Regions from separate parts of the Homo sapiens genome. Here region 2 is linked to region 1. The links are contacts of gene promoters, found by promoter capture Hi-C in human tissues and cell types (Jung and others, 2019). All regions are on one chromosome and are shown on one strand. Each heading gives the region's core, a stretch centred on a gene start or on the middle of the fragment in contact. The rest is flanking DNA. Distances are from core to core; before and after follow the strand shown. Region 1 holds the start of CTCF (CCCTC-binding factor). Region 2 overlaps TSNAXIP1 (translin associated factor X interacting protein 1).

Region 1 (6,714 bases), core at 3,936-6,435:
CTGCTTATCTAGCAAGCGCCTGTGAGCCTGACAAATCCCCGAGGAAGGAATCTGCTCTTAGGGTACAAACCACATTGGGTTTCTGGTCCTGTACGTGAGGCTCAAGGCCAGATCTTTTTTTTTTTTTTTTTTGAGACAGAGTCTCACTCTGTCGCCAGGCTGGAGTGGAGTGGTGCGATCTCTGCTCACTGCAACCTCCGCCTCCCAGGTTCAAGCGATTCTCCTGCCTCAGCCTCCTGAGTAGCTGGGATTACAGGCACACGCCACCACACCCAGCTAATTTCTGTATTTTCAGTAGAGACGGGATTTCACCATGTTGGCCAGGATGGTCTCAATCTCTTGACCTAGTGATCCGCCCACCTCGGCCTCTGAAAGTGCTGGGATTACAGGCATGAGCCACCGTGCCCAGCCTAGCCTTATTTTTATCACCTCAACTGTTTCACAGCCTGTCATCATATTTTCCCTCAGCTTGTTTCTTTCCAGCCTCAAACATTCTATTCCTTTTGTTTGGCCTTCTGTTCCTTCATCTTTGGAGCTGACTCCATAAAGTAGGACACATCAAGATTTACCATAAAGACAAGAAAATATTTTGTTTGTTTATTTATTTTTGAGATGAAGTCTCGCTCTGTCGCCCAGGCTGGTGTGCAGTGGCGCAATCTCGGCTCACTGCAACCTCCACCTCCCAGGTTCAAGCAATTCTCCTGCCTCAGCCTCCCGAGTAGCTGGGATTACAGGTGTGCCACCACGCCTGGCTAATTTTTATATTTTCAGTAGAGATGAGGTTTCACCATGTTGGCCAGGCTGATCTCAAACTCCTGACCTCAGGTAATCCGCCTGCCTCGGCCTCCCACAGTGCTGGGATTACAGGTGTGAGCCACTACGCCCAGCCAGAAAATATTTTCTTTTCTTCCTTCCTTAGTGATCCTTCGCATTTTCTCAGCCCTATGTGAGAGCAGTACATAGGGTCCTTGTCTTCAGAAAGCAGGCTTCAAGGCCACTTGGACCCCATTCCTGGCTTTTGATGCCTCAGAGATCATAGAGTTATAAATATAATTAATATATAGTTGTAAATATAATCATAAATATAATTGAGGCTTTTTTCCCTCTAAATCCACTGCCTCAGGCTGGGTGTGGTGGCTTACATCTGTAATCCCAAGACTTTGGGAGGCTGAGGTGGGCGGATCTCCTGAGATCAGGAGTTCAAGACCAGCCTGGCCAACATGGCAAAACCCCGTCTCCACTAAAAATACAAAAAATTAGCCAGGAGTGGTAGTGCACACCTGTAGTCCCAGCTACTCGGGAGGCTGAGGCAGGAGAATTGCTTGAACCCAGGAAGCAGAAGTTGCAGCGAGCTGAGATCGAGCCACTGCATTCCAGCCTGGGCGACAGAGTGAGATTACATCTAAAAATAAAATAAAATAAAAAAATAAATCCACTGCTTCATATTTGCCTACATAAAAGCTTTAGAAGGTGTTCCTGTAGTCTACTCTTAAAGAAGATGGGGACAGGTGTGGTGGCTTACATCCCAGCACTTTGGAAGGCCAAGACAGGAGAATTGCTGGAGCCTGAGACCAGCCTGGGCAACACAGTGAGACCTCATCTCCACAAAAAGAAAACAAAAAACAAAAAAAAAGGAAGGTGATTTGAAGTAAAATCTTGAGAAAGTGAACTAATTAGCTTATTAATGTTACTAGAAAGAAAATCTAAAGTTTAAATGCAAGTCAGCTTTTAATTTTTTTTTTATTTTTGAGACAATGTCTTGCTCTGTCACTCAGGCTGGAATGTAGTGGTGCAATCGGGGTTCACTGCAGCTTCAACCTCCTGGGCTCAAGTGATGCTCCTGCCTCAGCCTCCCAAGTATCTGGGACTACAGGTACACACCACCATGTTCAGCTAATTTTTTGTAGAGATGGGCTTTTGCCATGTTACCCAGGCTAGTCTCAAACTCCTGGGCTCAAGTAATCCACCTACCTTGGCCTCCCAAAGTGCTGGGATTACAGGCATGAGCCACTGTGCCTGGCCTATTTTTTATTTTTTTGAGACAGGGTCTTGCTTCATCACCCAGGCTGGAGTACAGTGGCACACACATGGCTCCCTGTAGTCTCGACCTCCTGGGCTCAAGCGATCTTCCCACCTCAGCCTCCCAAGTAGCTGGGACTACAGTCATACGCCACCACACTCAGCTAATTTTTAAATTTTTTGTATAAACAAGGTCTCCCTATGTGCATGTCAGCTTTGTTGTTTCTAGTACATAAGTTCTTAAGTATACCAGGAACTATTTGGGCTGAGGAGAATGCAAAATGCAAATATTCCAGAAGCATCTGTTTGGTAATTTTCCTCTGAGTTTGTCTTTTCTTTATGTCTGAGTCCTAATGTGTACATAAGAGGCAAATGGGATAACTTGGTTTCTAGAAAAAGAAGGGTCACGTGTAAATTTTTCAAATACTTCACACATTTCTAAAATAGTATCTAATTGTATAAGGTAAGTAACTGGGATTAGACATGAGAAAACTTGCCGGGCGCGGTGAGTCGCTCCTGTAATCCCAGCACTTTGGGAGGCCGAGGCGGGCGGATCACCTGAGGTTGGGAGTTCAAGACCAGCCTGACCAACATGGAGAAACCCCATCTCTACTAAAAATACAAAATTAGTCGGGGGTGGTAGCGCATGCCTGTAATCCCAGCTACTCAGGAGGTTGAGGCAGGAGAATCGCTTGAACCCAGGAGGCAGAGGTTGTGGTGAGCTGAGATCACACCATTGCACTCCAGCCTGGGCGATAAGAGCAAAACTCCGTCTCAAAAAAAAAAAAAAGAAATGAGAAAAATTGGGTCCTGGTGTTGAGAAGCTGTACTATCCCTTTTCTTCATGTCTGTACCCAAGCAGCTGAATGTTGGAGAAAAACCAACACACTGGGCCAACTGGTTTACCTTTAACATCATGATCACAAACCTCAGATGAGTACCCAATGCCACCAAGGCAATCCTGTTAAGGACTTGCCTTCCCTCTCCCCTGCACTTGCATCTGTCTTCACCTTTGTTGCCCTTATCATGAATGGAAGCATCCCTGTTCCTCTCCAAGGTCAACCCTCCCTGTTTCCTTATATCTTCTGATGGATTTCACTCCTATATAGGTCAAGCAAGCCTCCTCTCTCCTGGATCACCCATCTTTCTTCCCCACCATATCCCTCCCAATGGCACATAAACATGCTCTGGGAACCCTACCATCTTTTATTTTATTTATTATTATTTTTTGAGATGGAGTCCCGCTTTGTTGCCCAGGCTGGAGTGCTGTGGCCCAATCTTGGCTCTCTGCAACCTCTGCCTCCCGGGTTCAAGCAATTCTCCTGCCTCAGCCTCCCCAGTAGCTTGGATTACAGGCGCGCGATACCATGCCCAACTAATTTTTGTATTTTTAGTAGAGACCGGGTTTCACCATATTGGCCAGGCTGGTCTCGAACTCCTGACCTCAGGTGATCCACCTGCCTTGGCCTCCCAAAGTGCTAGGATAACAGGCGTGAGCCACTGCGCCCGGCCCCTACTATCTTTTAAAAGATTTCTTTCTATATCTATCCCCAAACTTATCTGGTCCCTTCACAGCAAAACCTCTCTCAAATTGCATACATGTGCTGTCTCCATTTCCTCACTTTCCTGGTGACTGTTTAACCCATTCCGGTCAGGTCCACCTCCCTGATATACTCACGTGAATCAAGCCAAGGCCATCAGTGACATTCTCCAGTGACTTGCAAGGTGACCCAATCCAATAGCCACATCTCTGGCCCAAGTTTATCACACCGCTCAGCTGATGCCTCCTACCTGAAACCTTCTCTGCCCAGGGATTCCACAACTCAGCGCTAGCTTTCATGACTTCCTAGATGCTGCCTTTCAGACTCCTTCTCCATTACCCTCCCAATATTGGAGTGCCCCAGGATTTGGCCATGGAATTTCTCTTCACTCTTTCCTCCAAGCCAAGCCAGGGGTCGTAAACTGACAGCTCATCTGTGTGGTTTAATCAGCTCATGAAGTTTAAAAACATCTGATTCAGTTGCTAACATCTAAAAACTCTGGAGATTTGACATCTTAAAAATACAGATTTTTTTATTCCTTTAGGGGAAAAAAAAAGAGTATGTTATTGGGCCAGCATTCTCACAACGGAACGGTCAGATGGATGGAGAAGAAGCTGCTCCCTAGATATTGGGTCCATTTGATATCTAAGGGAAGAGTCATATTCCCTGTAAGTACCAAAAGGCTCTCATCCCAGAGCCACCAGCACCTTGCAGTCAGTTCTTGGTCAACTTGACTGCAGGTTGGGAAGGGTCCGCAGGCGCCTCCTGGGGAGGGGTGGGACTGAAGGTCTCCGCCCACAGAGAACAGCTCTCCCGCAAAGACAAGAAATGCACGTTTCCACAGAATTACACAGCGCTAAATACAGAAACTCCTTTCAGTAAAAAGCGATTGCTATGAACGTGTTAAAGCATCAAGTCTGGTTTTCCGCCACCTCTCCGGGCTGAGGTGGCCTGGGGACACCAAGAGGAGGCCCTCCCACTCTCCTCTCGCACCCGCTTTTAGGTGGCCCTCTTCTAGGGCGGAGAGATCACCAAAAGCCGCTGAGCAAGGACAGCCCTTCCAGTCGTCGCTCGCGGGCACGGAGCTGGGAGCGCGCGGGAACCGACCGGGCCTTACTCTGGGGCGGGCAGCTGTAAGACATTCGGAGGGCGGGTCGGGCCTGGCTGGGGCGGAGACTGGGCGGGGCCGGGCCCGGGAGCCTCCTCAGCCCCACTGGCTTGCCCCGCGCGCGCTTCCTCCAGCCACCCCCACTTCCCCAACCCTGTACGGGTTCAGGGGGCCGGAGACAGCAGCTAGGGAATAAGGTCAAGCGGACTGGATCCGGCACCGCCCAGGGGCGGCGGCCTCCGCCCAGGAAGCCCCACCCAGCGGGAGCCAGGACGCCGCGGCGCCGGCAGAGCCCACGAGCGACCCGGCGAGGGCGCGTGCGGCGTGACGACGCGACTCGCGGCGCGTCCCGTGACGCCATCGCGCCCGCTTTTGAAAGTTGGCGCCCGGGGCCGCCTCCCATGCTGCCCTGCGCCAACCCCTCCCCTCACCTTTCCTCCCCCGCCCTCTACTCGCCGCCCGGCCGGTCCCCCCACCCGTCCCTTCCCTTATCAGCACCCGCGGCCCCGGCAGCGCCGACGCAGGCGCACTGCACCGCGCCGCCGCCATTTTGTGTCTGAGCCTGTGGAGCGATTAAACCGTGCGCGGAGCTGCTTCTTTGGCGGCAGCGGCGGCGGCGGTGGCCGGTGCGGACGCGCGGAGCTCGCCGGAGACGCCGGGTGGCCGGAGCCGTGGAGCGGCGGCGGAGCGGGCGCCGCGGGGGGTGTGGCGCGGAGGTAAGGGGGCCCGGGGTGGAGGAGGTTTCGCGGGCCGCCTCTAGGTGTCACGATGGGGCCGCTCCGGTCGGCGCTGGCTGCAGCCCGGCGCCAGCGCCGCCGCCGGGGGGTGTTTGTCTCCCTCTACCGTCCCTGCTGCGGCGCGGCCGCCGCCATTGCCCGTCGCCGCCGTGGCCCGGCCGCCCCCCCCACCCCCACGCCCGCCCGCCCGCCCGCCCGCTAGGCCTCCCTCCTGGCAGCGCGCTAGGCCTCGGGCGGCGGCAGAGGCAGAGGCCCGCGCGCCCGGCGACTCCATTTTCCTTCCTTTGTCTGCCCTCGAGGCCGGTTCTTGGCCGGCCGATCGCCCGGCCGCGGCCCGCCCTCTGTCCTGTGTCCTCCGCCCCTCCCGCGGCGGGTGGCCCCAGCTGAGACACTATCTCCGCGTCCCGGCTTCGGCGCCCGCCTAGCTTAAGGGTTCGGACCGACTGCCGCCGCGCGCTAAGCCAGGTCCCGGTGCCGTATGGGTGTCGGGCCCTGGCCGTCGCGTCTCGGGCTGCCCCTCCTCCAGCCAGCCCCGTCCCCGGAACCTACCCTGCCGGCCTGCGTGCCTTCCCAGCTGCTTGGCTGCTCGGCGGTCGCTCCCAGTCCGCGCGTCGCCGCCGCTGGTCTCCGTCTCCGCCGAGTGGCGCAGGCGGCGCTGCAGCGGCTGCGAGCAGAGGGACCCCAGAGCTGCCGAGAGCTCCCTCTGCAAGGCTGGCTGAGCTGCTCGCACCTCTACGCTGCCTGAGCGGGCGGGGGGACGCGCGCTCGCCGCCCCCGCTGCGCCCCCAAACTCGCGCCCGGGTTCCTGGCCGGACCCGACCGGTGCGGCCCCCCCACGGTGGGCGGAAAAGATGCGAGTTCCGCACCAAGTAGTTTTTATCCAGCCGGGTTCGGACTCCCCAGCCGAGTGATAGCAGCCTGACTTTGTGCGCTCAGAGATCTCAAAGGGACTGAAACTTAAATTTCATTCTGATCTCAAGTGACGTGACAAATTTCTGAATTTGGGAGTATGGGCTAAGTCCCTTGAGTTTCCCTCCCGCTTTAAAATGTCCTCACACTAACTTAGTACCTGATGCTCTAGGGCTAGGTGAAGGCGGTTCTGCCCCAGGATTGTGCAACTCGATCTAGAGCGCCAGTAGGGCAGAATGAGTTTATTCTTGACTCGACTGGTAATTTGCCCATGCGATGAAATATGAGGGTTGATGTTGTAATTGAATCCTGGGTCACTTGCTGCAGATGGTTTATAAATATCTACGCCTAATGTAACTACTGTTTAGTAGGAGACTTCCTGTAGCCCCGAGTTCAGCGT
Region 2 (6,598 bases), core at 2,302-4,801, 260 kb after region 1:
ACGGGGTTTCACCGTGTTAGCCAGGATAGTCTCGATCTCCTGACCTCGTGATCCACCCACCTCAGCCTCCGAAAGTGCTGGGAATTACAGGCGTGAGCCACCGCGCCCGACTATGCTTTCTCACTGCATCCTCACATCAATACACTGTGACAAAGACTACCATCATCCCTATTTTACAGACGTGAGAACTAAGGCTCAGAGAAGTTGTGACATAGCTAATAAGGGACATTTGAGACTTAACCCGAGTCTTCTCTAACTCAAGAACCCACAGTCTTAATTATGAACCATGTTGAGAGATGTTTGTAAAACACATCAGGGCTGGCCAGGCACAGTGGTTCACGCCTGTAATCCCAGCACTTTGGGAGGCCAAAGTGGGTGGATCACGAGGTTAAGAGTTCAAGACCAGCCTGGCCAAGATGGTGAAACCACGTCTCTACTAAAAATACAAAAATTAGATGGGTGTGGTGGTGGGTGCTTGTAATCTCAACTATTCGGGAGGCTGAGGCAGAGAACAGCTTGAACCTGGGAGGCGAAGGTTGCAGTGAGCCAAGATCGTGCCACCACACTCCAGCCTGGGCAACAGAGCAAGACTGTCTCAAAAAAAAAAAGTCAGGACTGGGGGAGGAGAGATGGAGAGAAACATTAGGAAGGGGAGCAATGTTGCCATGGCAACCCCACCTGTACCTCCCTGCAGACTGGTCAGTTCTCCATGGGTGGGCACCTGTCCCCATGGCCCACATACACCAGTGGCCAGACCATTTTGCAAAATCGAAAACCCTGTTCAGATGACTACCGGAAGCGAGTAGGGTAAGCCAGGGTCAGTCCCATGGTGGGTGAGCTGGCATGGGCCAGGCTTTGGGCCAGGAGACAGGGCAGGGGCGTGTGTTGCCCCAGACTGAGGGCACAAGGGCCCCGTGGGGGTGCTGGCCACATATCAGCCACTGTCCCCTGCAGGAGCTGCCAGCAGCACCCCTTTCGCACTGCCAAGCCCCAGTACTTGGAGGAACTGGAAAACTACCTACGCAAGGAGCTCCTCCTGCTGGACCTGGGCACAGATTCCACCCAGGAACTAAGGCTGCAGGTCAGAGCCACAGAAGAAACTTGGGGAGGGCGGGGGAAGGGTGGGAAGAAGCTTCACCTACCGGCCGGGCACAGTGGCTCACGCCTGTAATCTCAGCACTTTGGGAGGCCAAGGCGGGTGGACCACCTGAGGTCAGGAGTTCAAGACCAGCCTGGCCAACATGGCGAAACCCCGTCTCTACTAAAAGTACAAAAATTAGCCAGGCATGGTAGTGGGCACCTGTAGTCCCAGCTACTCAGGAGGCTGAGGCAGGAGAATCGCTTGAACCCTGAACCCGGGAGGCAGCGGTTGCAGTGAGACAAGATCACACCACTGCACTCCAACCTGGGCGACAAGAGTGAGACTCCGTCTCAAAAACAAAAAAAAGCCTCACCTACAAGGACTGAGCACCTCAGACCTTCAGGGGAGACCCACCTCTCCCAGCTCTCCTGGGTCTCCTTCCCTGAACAGAAGCATGAAACATCCCATGAAAATGCCAGTGAGGCCGGGCACAGTGGCTCATGCCTGTAATCCCAGCACTTCGGGAGGCTGAGGCAGGAGGATCGCTTGAGGTCAGGAGTTCAAGACCAGCCTGGTCAACATGGTGAAACCCTGCCTCTACTAAAAATACAAAACCTGCAGTGGTGGTACACACCTGTAGTCCCAGCTACTCAGGAGGCTGAGGCAGGAGAATTGCTTGAACCCAGGCGGCAGAGGTTGCAGTGAGCCGAGATCATGCCACTGCACTACAGCCTGGGCAACAGAGTGAGACTCTGTCAACAGAAAAAAGAAGGCCAGGCACGGTGGCTCACACCTGTAATCCCAGCAGTTTGGGAGGCCGAGGCAGGCGGATCACCAGGTCAGGAGATCGAGACCATCCTGGCTAACATGGTGAAACCCCGTCTCTACTAAAAATACAAAAAAATTAGCCAGGTGTGGTGGCAGGCACCTGTAGTCCCAGCTGCTCGGGAGGCTGAGGCAGGAGAATGGCATGAACCTGGGAGGCGGAGCTTGCAGTGAGCCAAGTTCACGCCACTGCACTCCAGCCTGGGCAACAGAGTGAGACTCCATCTCAAAAAAAAAAAAAAAAAAAGAAAACGCCAGTGAGCAGGCAAGGCTGCAATGTGGATCCAAAAGTCTCCTGAGGCTGGAGTTTCCTCACCTGAGTCAGGTGGCCTGGATGCTGTGCCCAGTCCCTGCAGCTCTGTGATCCCCAGTACCCAGGTTGGGCCACTGGACATCAGTGAACGTAGCCTGAATGCTGGCAGTTGGGCAAGCAGGGGTCACACCGTGTTTACCAGTCCAGTGGCAACAACCCCAAGCTTAAGGAACCAGCACAGATGCATAAGGAGGGAGGGAGGAAGAGAGAGAGAGAGAGAGAGAGAGATCAGATCCAACCCAGATACCAGTGTATAGTAGGGAGAGAATCACCAAATCTGCTTAAACAAGGATGATGACAGAGAATCCCTGCCTTTTGACTTAGTCATTGACTAAAGCATTTACTGAGCACTGGCTATGTGCAAGTGCAAGGCCCTGGGCTGGGGCCTTACATCGATCTCCTGAACAGATAAGGAAGAAAGCATACCACTATGGCGTAGTGGGGCTGGGCTTCAAACTCAGGGCTGACTCTGGAGACTGTGCTCATTTCAGTGAGCAATGCTGCCTCCAGAAACCTCCCATGTGTCCAAATGGGACAGAAGACCACACCCCTACTTGCATGTCAGGATGCAAGGGTACAACCTTCAATCTCCTGAATCTACCAGGCTCTAAGATGGGGAGAGGTTACAAGTGAGAGGCCAATGATGCAGTGTCTAGAAGGCAAGAGGCTGGCTGCCTGGAGAGCCAGAGAGGGGCTCAGGCACAGAGTGGATGTCTGTCTATGGTCATGGCAGTCCACTAGGCCTCAGAGACAGCATCAGGACAGGCCTCCAGAGAGCTGCCCCCCAGGCTCCGTGGCACTGTGAGGTACCCGGGTGGTATCTAGGGCATTTACTTGAATATAAGTGACCTGGCAGCCTCATGCTGGAATACTGCTAAGCCCAGTAAAGAAAAAAACAGTGCCAGGCACAGTGGCTCACACCTGTAATCCCAGCACTCTGGGAGGCCGAGGTGGGTGGATCACGAGGTCAGGAGATCGAGACCATCCAGGCCAACATGGTGAAACCTCATCTCTACTAAAAATACAAAAATTAGCCAGGTGTGGTGGCGCGTGCCTGTAATCCCAGCTACTCAGGAGGCTGAGGCAGGAGAATCACTTGAACCTGGGAGGCAGAGGTTGCAGTGAGCTGAGATTGCACCACAGCACTCCAGCCTGGGTGATGGAGCGACACTCCGTCTCAGGAAAAAAGAAAAAGAAAAACAGTTCCCCACTAAGGTTGGCAGCTGTGGGCTAGGAGATGATGGGTTCCCTTTTCTTGCCAGCCTTACAGAGAGATCTTTGAGTTCTTCATAGAGGACTTCAAAACGTACAAGCCATTACTATCCTCCATCAAGAATGCGTATGAGGGGATGCTGGGTAAGAATGCACCTCCTGCCAGGCGTAGTGGCTCACGCCTGTAATCCCAGCACTTTAGGAGGCCGAGGCGGTAGATCACTTGAGGTCAGGAGTTTGAGACCAGCCTGGCCAACATGGTGAAACCCTGTCTCTAGTAAAAACACAAAAAAATTAGCTGCGCATGGTGGCACACACCTGTAATCCCAGCTACTTGGGAGACTGAGGCAGGAGAATTGCTTGAACCTAGGAGGTGGAGGTTGCAGTGAGTTGAGATCACACCACCGCACTCCAGCCTGGGCAAAAGAACAAGACTCCATCGCAAAAAAAAAAAAAAAAAAAGAATGCAGCTCCCCTCCTTGTCCCAGCCTGGAAGGGGTGGAGAAGATCCTATTCGACCTTCTGGTGCTCCACAGCAGGGCTGGGGCAGCTACCAACTGGGCCTTGAGGTCACCAAGGCCCCTCAGCCATTCTGCACAGACTGTTCCATGATAGGGCACCCCAGAGCACCTGACAACACCTGTCATTGAGAAGCACAGGGGGGCAGTCCCTGTTGAAAATGGAGTGAACCCCAGGAGAGAGTCAGCACCTCTGGGAGTCAGCAGGCTCCCCTGCCAGGCTCAGGAGGTGCAGGGCATGGTGCAGCTGCAGGACTTAAGGCTGTAGGGGAAAGGACATAGGAGAGACCCCGGTCTTCATCTGAACTCTGCCCTTTGTTTAAAATCAAGTGCAGGAAGGCCTGAAACAGGGACCATGGCTTTGAACAAGGCATGCAGAGATTCTTGGGGTTTGCAAGCGACATAGCCACTCACCCATGACCTTAGGGTGTCTTCTGGCTGTTTGTTCTCCATGGCCCCAAAGCAGCTCTCCCACCTGTCTCTGCTTAGCCCACCAAAGGGAGAAGATTCGGGCTCTGGAGCCCCTGAAGGCCAAGCTTGTCACTGTGAATGAGGACTGCAATGAGAGGATCCTGGCCATGAGAGCTGAGGAGAAATATGAAATCTCCCTGCTCAAGAAAGAGAAGATGAACTTGCTAAAACTCATCGACAAAAAGAATGAGGAGAAGATTTCATTGCAGAGCGAGGTGAATGGAAGTGGTGTGATGATGACCAAGTCCCCGAATTCCTGCCAACTCCACGACAAGGGTGACCCCCTACCCTGCTCTGCCTTTCTACGGAGAGTGACACACTGAGCCACCACCTTCCCCCAGAGCCTTGCTAACTCCACCCTCTGCCCTGCTGCTAGGCTCAGTACTTTCCCCACAGGGGGAAACATTGGCACCTTGCCGAATTCTCAGAAATGGCCAATCTCCTTCTTCTTTCACCTTTCCTGTTCACAGTCCCTGATGGGGCCCCCCAGAACCCAGCCCACTCCCTGGGGTGACCAGCTGCATACAGGGGTCCAGGGGCAGCCCCTGACCACACAGCCACCTTCTTGCCAGGTGACCAAACTGAGGAAGAACTTGGCTGAGGAGTACCTGCACTACCTCAGTGAGCGAGATGCCTGTAAGATCCTCATCGCAGACCTGAATGAGCTGCGGTACCAGCGGGAGGACATGTCATTAGCCCAGTCGCCAGGTAAGCCTGAATTGGGAATCGGGTTTCTCTCTTCTCTGAGACGCTGGAAGACTCTGGTCTCACCCCTAAGCCCCATTCATTCAGCATTCCTAAGACCTGCTCATTCCATAACCATTCAGAGGGGAGATGTCCCTGCCTCCCGCAGGGCTGTGTATCTTCTGAGTTGAACTGAGAATTGTAGGAACACAGTTGGTAGCTGAGGCAGCCTAGGCTCCCAGTGGGCTGGACAGGCCTGGTACTCAGTTTCCTGGGCTTCTAGACTTTAGCCTGAAACCCTAGGCTGGTAGTGCTGTGGGCAAGAACCAGGGAACCCCAAACAGGAAGGGCAGAGGGCTTCAGGCAACCCCTGAGAAAGCCACGGTGACACGGGCTGGTGGGCCCCTTCCCCTGGCAGGCATCTGGGGGGAGGACCCTGTGAAGTTAACCCTGGCTCTTAAGATGACCCGGCAAGACCTGACCCGCACGCAGATGGAACTCAACAACATGAAGGCCAACTTTGGAGATGTGGTCCCCAGGAGGGACTTTGAAATGCAGGAGAAGACCAACAAGGATCTTCAGGAGCAGGTGCTGGCAGGCAGGCAGGGCCAGGAGGGTAGGACGGGGTCTCACAGGTGGGGGGCCAGGGCCAATGTCCTTGCCCACAGCTGGACACCCTGAGAGCCAGCTACGAGGAGGTTCGCAAGGAGCATGAGATCCTCATGCAGCTGCACATGAGCACGCTGAAGGAACGGGACCAATTCTTCTCTGAGCTGCAGGAGATCCAGCGCACTTCCACGCCGCGGCCTGACTGGACCAAGTGCAAAGGTGAGGGCAGCCGGCAGGGCCCCAGGTCCTGCTTACATGTGGGCCCAGACTCCAGCTCCCTCTCCCCACATGCAGATGTGGTGGCTGGGGGCCCAGAGCGCTGGCAGATGCTGGCTGAGGGCAAGAACAGCGACCAGCTGGTGGACGTGCTCCTGGAAGAGATTGGTTCGGGGCTGCTGCGGGAGAAAGACTTCTTCCCTGGTCTGGTAGGGGAGGCCCCAGGAGTGGGGCTTGGGCCAGAGTCAGAACAGCCATGCCCTGCTGCTCAGACAAGCTTTTGGGGAACCAACTGGGGATCTTCCCTGATTGGGGGTGGGGCCACAGATGGGTCCAGAGATGAGCTGATATCCTCCCTCCTAGGGCTATGGGGAAGCCATCCCTGCTTTTCTTCGGTTTGATGGCCTCGTGGAGAACAAGAAGCCAAGCAAGAAGGACGTGGTCAACCTCCTCAAGGATGCCTGGAAGGAACGTCTTGCTGAGGAGCAGGTCAGATCTCACCAGCCACTCTGGCCCAGCATGGTCTTCAGATCCAGAGTCCTCTGCAGGTCCAGAGGTGACAGGGATGAGGGCCAACCAACCGTAAGACTCTGACTGAGCATTTCCTCGATCCCGCAGAAAGAGACGTTCCCAGATTTCTTCTTCAATTTCCTGGAGCATCGCTTTGGG

Evidence for each region. The method cuts DNA at HindIII sites, captures the fragments that hold promoters and counts their contacts. A contact is called where the count stands out against the background at its distance.
Region 2: a fragment that was not itself captured here is called in contact with the fragment with the promoter of CTCF in region 1 in 1 of the 25 tissues and cell types used here (spleen).

What each region holds. Positions count from the first base shown.
Region 1 is chr16:67,557,341-67,564,054 of GRCh38, forward strand. CTCF (CCCTC-binding factor) reads left to right here and starts at 5,186. Exons shown (of 12, transcript NM_006565.4): 1 at 5,186-5,384. CTCF-DT (CTCF divergent transcript) reads right to left here and starts at 4,969. Exons shown (of 1, transcript NR_158165.1): 1 at 4,071-4,969. LOC124903703 (a long non-coding RNA gene) reads right to left here and starts at 6,110. Exons shown (of 2, transcript XR_007065094.1): 1 at 5,955-6,110. RefSeq lists enhancers at 4,278-4,327, 4,348-4,397, 5,542-6,404 and silencers at 4,628-5,637, 6,158-6,257. The HindIII fragment of the contact is 9,573 bases long and covers 238-6,714 here.
Region 2 is chr16:67,820,145-67,826,742 of GRCh38, forward strand. It overlaps TSNAXIP1 (translin associated factor X interacting protein 1), which reads left to right. Exons shown (of 16, transcript NM_001288990.3): 3 at 695-807; 4 at 955-1,081; 5 at 3,482-3,575; 6 at 4,439-4,635; 7 at 4,993-5,128; 8 at 5,523-5,692; 9 at 5,773-5,932; 10 at 6,008-6,138; 11 at 6,293-6,418; 12 at 6,548-6,598. Among named protein-coding and RNA genes, the nearest start is that of TSNAXIP1, 17 kb to the left of the region's middle. RefSeq lists an enhancer at 5,346-6,206. The HindIII fragment of the contact is 3,588 bases long and covers 1,758-5,345 here.